Linked DNA regions of Homo sapiens: all the other regions are linked to region 1. Evidence: promoter capture Hi-C in 16 types of primary human blood cells and fetal thymus (Javierre and others, 2016). All regions are on one chromosome and are shown on one strand. Each heading gives the region's core, a stretch centred on a gene start or on the middle of the fragment in contact. The rest is flanking DNA. Distances are from core to core; before and after follow the strand shown. Region 1 holds the start of NGEF (neuronal guanine nucleotide exchange factor). Region 2 overlaps DGKD (diacylglycerol kinase delta). Region 3 overlaps ATG16L1 (autophagy related 16 like 1).

The links. Contacts are between HindIII fragments. The CHiCAGO score rates a contact against its expected background, and 5 or more counts as called.
Region 2: a contact is called between a fragment that was not itself captured here and the fragment with the promoter of NGEF in region 1, in 1 of 17 cell types (neutrophils). The highest score is 5.3, in neutrophils.
Region 3: a fragment that was not itself captured here is called in contact with the fragment with the promoter of NGEF in region 1 in 1 of 17 cell types (neutrophils); the score reaches 5.1 in neutrophils.

What each region holds. Positions count from the first base shown.
Region 1 is chr2:233,011,708-233,015,069 of GRCh38, forward strand. NGEF (neuronal guanine nucleotide exchange factor) reads right to left here and starts at 1,549. Exons shown (of 15, transcript NM_019850.3): 1 at 1,361-1,549. LOC101928881 (a long non-coding RNA gene) reads left to right here and starts at 907. Exons shown (of 3, transcript NR_136325.1): 1 at 907-1,262; 2 at 1,433-1,540. The HindIII fragment of the contact is 3,625 bases long and covers 1,531-3,362 here.
Region 2 is chr2:233,420,330-233,423,691 of GRCh38, forward strand. The region is part of intron 3 of DGKD (diacylglycerol kinase delta); the gene reads left to right. Among named protein-coding and RNA genes, the nearest start is that of DGKD, 68 kb to the left of the region's middle. RefSeq lists an enhancer at 1,859-2,008. The HindIII fragment of the contact is 1,540 bases long and covers 887-2,426 here.
Region 3 is chr2:233,278,646-233,282,007 of GRCh38, forward strand. It overlaps ATG16L1 (autophagy related 16 like 1), which reads left to right. Exons shown (of 18, transcript NM_030803.7): 11 at 2,460-2,530. Among named protein-coding and RNA genes, the nearest start is that of SAG, 27 kb to the right of the region's middle. The HindIII fragment of the contact is 5,263 bases long and covers 1-3,362 here.

The DNA.
Region 1 (3,362 bases), core at 299-2,798:
CTCCTGAGTGGCTGAGACTACAGGCATGCATCAGCTCTTCTTAAAGCAATTCATCTTCCCCCATGTCTAGCCTCATCTGTGTCCCCAGCCCCACTGGGGCAGAAAGCTGTGGAATGTTACTCACACTGTCATTGGATCAACCCCTGGCTTTCCTGTGGGGATCCCCTCCCTGGGAGGGGTTCCCATGACAATTTGGGCTCCAGAAAGGGATGTGGGAGGAGAGTGCGGTGGAGGGAGGTGGTCTGTGGTCTCCCTTCATGGACCAGAAAGCTTGACCCCCAAGGGGACCCTGGCTTCTACTTCCTCAGAGCTAAGCAGTGCCAAGGGGCAGCCTGAGACATGGGCAAAGGGGAAGCCTAAATGGAAAAAGAGAGAGAGAGAGAGAGAAAGAGAGAAGGGGCAGGGAGGACAAAGACACATGGCAAGTGTCCAAGCTGGAACATTCCCACCAGTGGCCTTATTGCATTAAGGATTTTCCCAAAAAGCAGAAATACACTGATAGTCAATGGAACATAGCAGAGCTGTCACGAGCCCAGGAAACACAAGTCCCACCTCTACACAGCCAGAGACTGTGTGACTGTCCCAAATTTTAAATCAAGATAGACAATAAGAACCTACCACTTTCACATCCAAGAAAACTGTGTCCCTACACATTTCAGTCACACCGTGCTGTGGCTTGAGGCCAGCCAGATGCAAAAATCAGGAAGGTTCTGAGGGGTAGGGCCTTCTGTCTTTCTGAAAGGGGCCCCTGAGCGGAGGGGGCAGTGCTGGGGGAGCTAAAGCGCAGTGGGCTGTCACTTCACGACTATGACTTCTGTTTCCCAAGTGCACTTCCTGACCCTGAGATTTGTGCCATGGCACACAGGAATCAGGGCACTTCCGTTTACATATACGCTCATTATCAGGACTGGCGTCGTGGGTGTGGGGCCTGGGCAGTCACAGGGCCCTGTTCTTAGAAGGTGCCCCGGCTTGCTTTAATGCTGTGTTGTTGTCCTTTTGAAAGCCTTACTATTTTAACAAGGGGCCCTGCATTTTTATATTGCACAGGGCCCTGCAATTATGCAGCCATTCCTGCTTTTGATCTCACTTACCCCACAGCCATAATGGAAGAGCGCCTGGAAGGAGTCCTTATCCTGATTCCCAGATGGTGAAACTGAGTGCCAGGAGGGGCAGTGCTGAAGCCGAGACCAGACAGGATCCCTCGGGTGGAATCCAGGGCTGCTGTTTCTCTTGGGGGCTCCTCCTCAGTGAATGGATGGGTGGTAATCTCCTTTCCTACCTGTCCTAGCGGTAGCCTCTGTTCCTTCTCTTGTTTTATCTCATTTTATTTTTTTAAAAAATACCAAAACCATTCTCTCACCTGCCAGAGAGGAGCTCATAGGAGTTGGGCTTCCTCAGAGAGTGTTCCTCCCTCGTCCCCTGTCCTGTCCAGGCACCTGCGAGCAGGATGGTGTGTCCCCGGCTAAATCCACAGGCGCTCCACTCTGTCCCAGAGAGCCCACAGCCAAAAACTTCGTCCTGTCCTGGAAAAGCTTCACTGGTAAGCATTCCCGACCTTTAGACCTGCCTTGGCCCATAGCTGGCCACGAGCCCATAACGATCACTTCCCGGCTGGGTGTTTACCTTCCTGGGCCCCATGGGTTGAGCCAGGGTGGCAGCCACATACCTGACACAAAAGTGGTGCAGGAGGGAAGGGCTATCTGAGGGGAAGGCTGGGCATGGCTGGAATACCCGCCGCCCGCCCAGTGCAAGATAATGCTGATGGTCACACCAAGAGGGGCCCGTGGCTCAGCTGGCCCACCAACCCCAAGCATTGGCCAAGCCAGCTGCACGGCCCTCAAATCTGAGATTTGGGAGAGGCTTTGGGGTCCTCCAGGGTTCTAGTCACTTCCTGCCATGGCCATCTGGCCTTAACTCAATCACTTCCAGGCATGGAACACTCACTGCTTTGTAAGGCATCTTGCTCCATTATTATTATTATTATTATTATTATTATTATTATTATTATTCCCTCTAATAGCTTCCTTTAATCCAGTGCTTACTACATGACAGGCACTGGGCTAAGTACATTACATAATCTATGTAATCCTTGTGTTGTCACTATGACCAGAGAATCATGCCCATTTTAAAGATGCAGAAACAGAGGCTCAAGAAATTGATCATCTTGCTCAAAGCCCCACAGCTAGTAAGTTGGGGATCCAGGATTCAAACCCAAGCCAACTAGTATCAAAACCACTACCATCATTTGCCAAGTTTAATTGCTACATCATCCATCTTTATATAAAACTCAAATCAGCGTTTGTTTTAGCTATCTGTTCTGGAAACAAATTAACTCAAAGTGTGTGGCTTGAAATAACACTCATTTGTCATCTCAGTTTCTGTGGCTAGAAGTCTGGGCACTGCTTGGCTGGGTTCTCTGCTCAGGGTTTCTCATAAGTTGCCATCCAAGTGTTGGAGGGGCTGAGGTCTCATCTCATGGCTCCACTAGGGGGGATCCACTTCCAAGCTGCTGGTGTTGGCAGGATTCAGTTTCTTAGGGCTGTAGGATGAAGGCCTCAGCCCCTCTCAGCTGTCAGCTGTGGCCACTATCAGTCCTTTGCCATGTGGGCCTCTCCGCCCTGGCAGCTCGTTGCATCAGAGAGGGCTATGGAGAGAGTCTGGGAAGAGGTAGGTCAGTCTTTTGTAATATACTCAAGGATGTGATATTCCATCACTTCTGGCATATTCTACTCGTTAGAAGGAAGTCATCAGGCACAGCCTACACTCAAAGGTAGGGGATTACACAGGGCACAATACCAGGGGTGGGGGTCCCTGAGGGCCATCTTTGAAAGTTCCCACAGCCATCTGATTGCCACAAAACATGGGTTTCAGTTTTGTCCCTGAAAGCCAGATTGAAGTAGTCTCTCATCTATTCTCTCACCCATCCATCCACCCATCCACCCATCCATCCACCCATCCACCCATCCATCCGTCCATCCATCCATCCACCATCCATCCACCCATCCATCCATCATCCACCCATCCACCCATCCATCCACCCATCCATCCATCCATTATCCACCCATCCACCCATCCATCCACCCATCCACACTTCCATCCACCCACCCATCCATCCACCCACCCTTCCATCCATCCATCCACCCACCATCTATCCATCCAACCATCCATCCATCCATCCATCCATCCATCCATCCATCCATCCATCCACCCAACCATCTACTCATCCATTCATCCACCCACTCATCCACCCATTCATCTACCCAACCATCTACTCATCCATTCATCCACCCACTCATCCACCCATTCATCTACCCATCCATCTACTCAACTACCCATCCACCCACCCATTCATCCATCCACCC
Region 2 (3,362 bases), core at 407-2,906, 410 kb after region 1:
CATATTTTTGTGCCAAAACATTTAAAACATTCAAAAAGTAACACATGAACCCAGCTATGACTGCTTCCAGCCTGAGAAATAAACATAATAGATATAACAGAGGCACTTGGAATTCTCTTTCCTATCCTCGTTTCTTCCTGCTCCCCCTTCCCTGGGGGCATCCTAACTTTGGTGTTTGTCATTTGTTTTCATGTTTATATACTTTTTTGATAAGTGTGTGTAGGCATAAACAGTATATAGCATTGTTGAACTGGTTCTGAAATGTCGAATAAATGTTATCAGACTGGACAGCCACAGCATTACGCTTCCTGGATTTATCCCTGTGGCTACATCTAGCTTTAGTTAAATGGTTCAAGGTTTAATACAACTGATTCCTGATTCCTGGAGTTAAATCAGAATTTCTGGGGAACGAGGCATGAACCGCAGAGCTCCTGACAGGCGCGGCCTGAGTTGAGGCCCACGATGCTGGTTTTCGTGGCCTCTGTAGTGTTCCAGTACCTAAGACGTCCTGTTGTGGACGTACACTTTCCCAGATTCCCTGTGATCAGTAGTGCTGCTGTGAATATGCTTATCTTCGTCTTCTTGGCACATGGGCAAGAGTTTCTCTAGAATGTGTTTCTAAGGATAGAATTGCCAGGTGTGTGCATCTTCAGCTTGACTGGTGATCGTCAAATTACCTCCAGAACTATCAGCAGCAGTGGTCACGTATGAGTGATCTCATTTCTATAGTGTCTTTAAGTTTTTCTTTTTTAACATACCAAACTGAGGGCAAGATGAAGACCTCATGAGTGAGATAAGACATTGGACATTGCTGAGACTTTAATCGACACCGTGCCCTCAGCATGTCCACACGGACCTGCTGGCCCTGCCGCCACCCCAGCTGTAAAGCTTGCTTCCACCCACAGTGTCCCCTTCCTGGGATGGGAGCAGCACCCAGCCAGCTGCTCGGAGGTCACTGTGGACTCCTCTCTGTCTCACCCTGTCCCGTCTGCTGTCCTCAGAGCACATCCAGAGCCTGCCCACTCTCCTCACCATCATCTCGTGATGGGGTTACTGAGGAGCCTCCCAAAAGGTTTCCTGCCTTCTTTCCTGCATCTTACTGTCAGCTTTCAATAAAGCAACCAGAATGATGCTTTCAAAACTTGAGCTTGCATGGCTTCTTATTTTACGTGGAGTAAAAGCCAAAGTTCTTACACCTGCATGGCCCTCTGTGGTCCTGATGCTTGCAGGTTGGCCCCTGGCCCCCTTCCTGATGCCAGCCCCAGCCACGCACCACGCGCCTGCTTCTGCTCAGCCCTTCCCACCTCCTTCCTTGCTTCCTTCCAGTCTCTGGCTCCTTCCTCGCCTCCTCCCCGTTTTTGCTGTGGAGTCCCCTGGCCCCCAGACCTCTCTTTTCTGGTCTCCCGTTTTTCCATAGGGCTTGTCACCAGCTACTACTCTCCATGCTGTGTAATTCACTTCTTTAATAAGTCTTTAATTTACTGCCTGCATTCAAATGTAACTTCCGCAGGAGCAGGAATCTTTTCTGTTTGCTCAAGTGAAAGACTGCCTGAATTTATTTCTGAGGAAGAAAGAAAGAATTTGGAGCCCAATGATGAAGATAGCACAGGAGAGAGGAGGTGAAGTTGAGGGAGCAGTTTCTGACTTGGGAGGTTGGGGGGATGGGACAATTACTGGTCTCTGGGAGGCAGTGGCAGAAGGACCTTGAGGCCCCCTAAGTGTGTAGTAGGACCCCCGAGGGGCATGGCCAGTGGGCTGTGGGGCTGCAGAGGCAGCTTCTTTTGGGGCCTTGTCTTGGCACCATCTCGGCCACTCCCAGAGCATACATTGGTATTGCCGTAGTGGGTGCTGGGCTGGCCCGCCCCACCCAGGAAGTGCACTACTGTTTGAGGGCAGGAGCCTGCGATTCTGACATCCTCTCTTCATGGCTGAGCTCCTCAGGTTACATAGCTCCACTGATTCCTCAAGCACTGTTGTGTTTAGAAATGAAACCTTCCATTTCCAGGGCCCTGCCTTGTGCAGGCTCAAGTACCCAGGCCACGTGTCAGAGCCCATAGCAAAATGAGCAGCTCAACCGGAGGGCGTGGTCCATGACACTCCTGCGTGTGCTTGGACTCAGGCGCAGGGACAGGCGGGGCAGCTGGCATTTCTACCCACCCCTCCTGACATAGAGGACCTGGTCCTTTTCTTTGAGAATGTGTACCAAAGGTGTGTCGGCTGTGTCCACATAATATTTTCTTGGCGTCAGATGTTTCATGGGTTGCACTAACTACAAATACAGGACTTTAGATAAGATTACACTTTTAACTTGCGCTGCCCACATACGCCCTTGTCCTTAAGAAACACAGCATTGTTCTGGAGTTACTCCTTGGTTTTCCCAGTTTAAACTTAAATATTGTTGATGGTGGTTACTTATTTTTAATTAAAGCTTTTATTTTGAGATTCTTTGTACCCTTTACCCAGTTGCATGCAGTGGTAACCTCTTGCACAACTCCAGTACAATGTCACACCCAGGATACTAACCTCGTTACAGTGGAGATGGGTAGCCTCCAAGCCGCAGAGATTTTCCTTGTGCCCTTTTACAGCCTCACACATGTCCCTCTGTAACCCCTGGCAAACACTCATCTGGTCTCCATTTCTATAATTTGGTCTTTTCAAGATGTGATATAAATGGAATCTTATAGTATGTAACCTTTGGGGTTGGATTTTTCACTCAGCGTAATTCCCTGGAGCCTCATTGAGGTTGATGAGTCTTATCAGTGGTTGTTCCTTTTTATTACTGAGTAGTATTCCACGGGTGTACCACAGTTTGTTAATCATTTACCCCCTGAAGGGCATCCGAATAGTTTCCAGCTTTTGGTGATCATGAATAAAGCTGCTGTAAACATTCCTGGGTAGGTTTCGGTGCAAACATGAATCTCCATTTCTCTGGGATAAATGCTGAAGAGTGTAATTGCTGGGTCATATGCTAGTCACATGCTTGGTTTTTTAAGAAACTGCCAAACCGTTTTGCAGAGTGGCCGTAATGTTTTACATCCCACCCAACAGTAAGATCCACTTTCTCCATATTCTCTCCAGCAGGTGGTGTTGGCACTAGTTTCTGTTGTAGCCATCGTGATAGGTGCGTAGGGCTCTCTGGTTGTGGTTTCAGTGTGTTTCTCTGATGGCTAAGGATGTTGAGTATCTTCTGTGTGCTTATTTGCCGCTTGCATATCCTCTTGTGCTGTCGGGGGTGAGGACTCATTTCCAGGTGGTATAGGAGACATCCCGGCTCTCAGCTTGGCCTCCTCTGGATACTCTGTTAGGTGAGTGCTGGAGTGCCTAGCTGCGGCCTGGGAGTGGGGTGGGCATGGTTTTTTCTT
Region 3 (3,362 bases), core at 863-3,362, 270 kb after region 1:
TGAAATTCCATGCTCTTACTGTAGCCTTCTCTAGCAACTGAAAAATCTTAGGGGTACTGCTTTTAAGGTTTATCAGAGCAGGAGCAACTTATTAGAATAGGTTATTAGTAAAGCACCCCTCCTATCTGCCCCGGCCTTTGATTTTCAGGAAAGGGACTCAGCAGTTAGAGCCCATTGAAGCATACTAAAATTTACTATTTTGCCCAGAAACATTTAGCTTATGAATGATAATGGCTGAAGCAATTAGAAAACAATAATAAAAACAAATCATAAGAAATTTTCACTTTGTGAGGCTGGGGCAAGAGGATTGCTTGAGGCCAGGAGTTCAAGACCAGCCTGGGCAACAAAATGAGACCCTGCCTCTACAAAAAAAATATTAAAAAGTAGCTGGGTGTGTTGGCATGCACTTGCAGTCCCAGCTTCCTGGGAAGCTGAAGTGGGAAGATCAATTGAGCCCAGGAGTGAGAGGCTGCTGTGAGCTCTGATCGCATCACTGCACTCCAGCATGGGCAGCAGAGCAAGACCCTGTGTCTTTTAAAAAAGGAAATTTTAGGGAATTTGATTTGCAAAATCAAAGTAAACAGTCTGTTTTGAGTATGCCATTGAGATTTAAATAAAAATAACACTAGAAATATTTTCGTTTTACTCCTTGGTCAGTAAAAACACCTATAAGAAAATTAGAGGTACCAACCTTTAATTCTAGTAACCTTTTTGCGGCTGAAAAGAAACGAACATCAGTTGAAGTTAATACTGACATAATCTGTGCCAGCACATAATTTGTGTTAATAAAATCAAGTTTCTACCTAATCTACAGAAATAGCAGAATGTGTGGCGGCATTTCTTACAGTTTTGTGTAGGGCCTTTCTTCTACAAACAGCTGTTTCAGTCTACAAGATTTTTCGTCTTGGCAAATATTTATTTACTGAATCTTGGAAGAGGCCAAGTTCAAGAGACCTTTTCTGAAATAGTTTGGGGGTCCTGTTTTTTCATCCTTTTAGATTATCAGAAGAATCACACTTTCTACCCAGTGGGAACATCTGTTTTTGCTCATTTTCTCCAAAGCAGAAGTTCCACTGGGAATTATACAAATGCTGTTGACATAGCACCCCCCGCCCCCAACCCCGTATCTTGTAGATAATTAAGAGTTTTAATACGGTCTTTGTTCTTTTGAGATCAATCTCTCATATTGAATAGCATTAATTTTTTGGTCACTTCCTACATTTCGGCACTGTGTTAAGTGCCAAGCAAATAGACCAGTATTTTAAGCATAAGCCAAAGAGATATTTCTTAGAATTTGCAGTAATATTTTTATCTGTGAAGATTTCATCTAAAGGAAAATCTTAGCGAATATTAGCCTTTTTCAACCCTTTTGAAAATCTTAAGAAAGCTAGGATCCAGAAAAAGCCATTAAATATGCTGTATTTTGCAAGTGAGTTCAGAGGAGAGGTTCATCAACCAGGTTAACAGTCTGTGGCCTGAATGTACATGACAGCTTCAAACCAGTATTCGTGTCACCTTGATATCTGGCTCCAATCATTATTTTTACTACTTAGAAGTACTGAATAAGATAAAAATGTGTTGAAATGTTTTCTGTTCTGTGTTCCTCTTTTACAAATATGATTACAATGGTTCCTTAATTTCTAGCTTATCTGTGTGGATCATCCTTAAGTTACCCTTTTAAAAGGAATTTAATCAAATCATTGAGATTTTTGCTCTTCTCAGTTTGGGATTGCCCGTTACTGAAATTTCCGTGTGGGTGGCCAGGCTGTCTGGAAGCAGAGTAGATAAAGTGGACAGTGGCTCTGTTGGTGAGGGAGAGCTGTGTAGAGGGATGGGAGGTGCTGGCACTTAGTTCGCTTGCCAGGATCTTAGATTCATGGAGATAAAGTATGAGGGCAAATTCCAGAAACTCCAAACTAGCTTGACTGGTATTCTATATGAGTAGTCATTTAAATGTAACTAACACAATTTCTTTTCACACCTTAATGAAAATTACCACACCATGGGTCCAGAAATTGACTGCCAGTTTCTACAAAAGTGGTAGTTAAGTTGGCACAAATGCTGATCAACCCAAATATTTATGTATGTAAGTTTTTAAAATGTACTGAGAAATAGTGGAACTGAATAAACCCAGTCTCTAGTTTGATTGACATGGTTTATAAATTCCTACACTTTGTTTTTCTAAAGAGAATGAATAACTACATTTCTTAAAGAACAGAACACACATCCAAGATGCTGGGGTCAGTGTCCACTTAGACTTGCATTCCTCTTAGAAACTAGCAGTATCTTTTATCTCTCATGTTCTCTTTGTCCTGCTATTTTGTTTGATTCTGTAAAGGTACAGGATAGCTATTGTTTTAGCAGTGTAATTGGCTTCCATTGTATTTCAGTGCCCTGTTTTAATGTATTTATTGGCTTTATTTAACTTCCCATCATCCTAATTTTTTCTTTTTATACAGAAAAATGTGAGTTCAAGGGTTCCCTATCTGGCAGTAATGCAGGAATTACAAGCATTGAATTTGATAGTGCTGTAAGTATTGAATAGCTATGATTTTAAAGGTTTTTAGAAATAATTTAAGACATTAGGTTCTTGAAATTATAACATAACTTACCCGATTTCTCTGCCATTCTCTGTATCTTAAGCCAAATCCATGTTAAAGAAAGATGGAAATAGATTATAGGGTTAATTGCTGTATCAACTCTGATAAACCCTTGGGTTCTGCTTCATGCATTAGGCTTGTGATGTTACTCAGTACTTTGTATAATTTCACTTAATAGTTGTATTTTGAGTGTATAGATGCTGTACTCCAGGGGCCAGCGTGGTCTCTACCCTCCGAGATTCGCCATCTAAATGAGAGTGATGGGAAAGCATTAAACTGCAAAGCGTTGTGCTGAGTTATGGCTGAGATGTGTGTGGAGTAGAAAGGAAATACTGATGAGAGAGTAGCTCATTCTGGGGCAAGGGTTAGGGGCCATAGTAAGGCATTTAAAGCAGATCTAAAGATAATCAAAGGTCAGAGGCAAAAAGCCAGGGACGGACACCACAGGCAGAGGGAGCAGAGGAGGTTGGGCTGGGCGAGTGCAGGAGCTTGGGTGGAGGTGATGACTGGGTGAGGCCAAGGTAGCGTCCTCATCTACCAAGAGTCCTTATCTTGATTGTCATCTCTGGGGAGCCTTGTTCACATTCCTGGGTGGGCTGAGTGTCTATGTTCCCAGCATCTTGTGCAAACCTATTCTATGGCACGGTGGTGGTCTATATCTGTTTCTTTTACTAAGCTGAGAGCTGACTACCTGAGGACAAGTGTCTGGGCGTTAATCATCTTTGTACCCCCAGCACCTGGCACAGTGCCTATTAGGTTCTA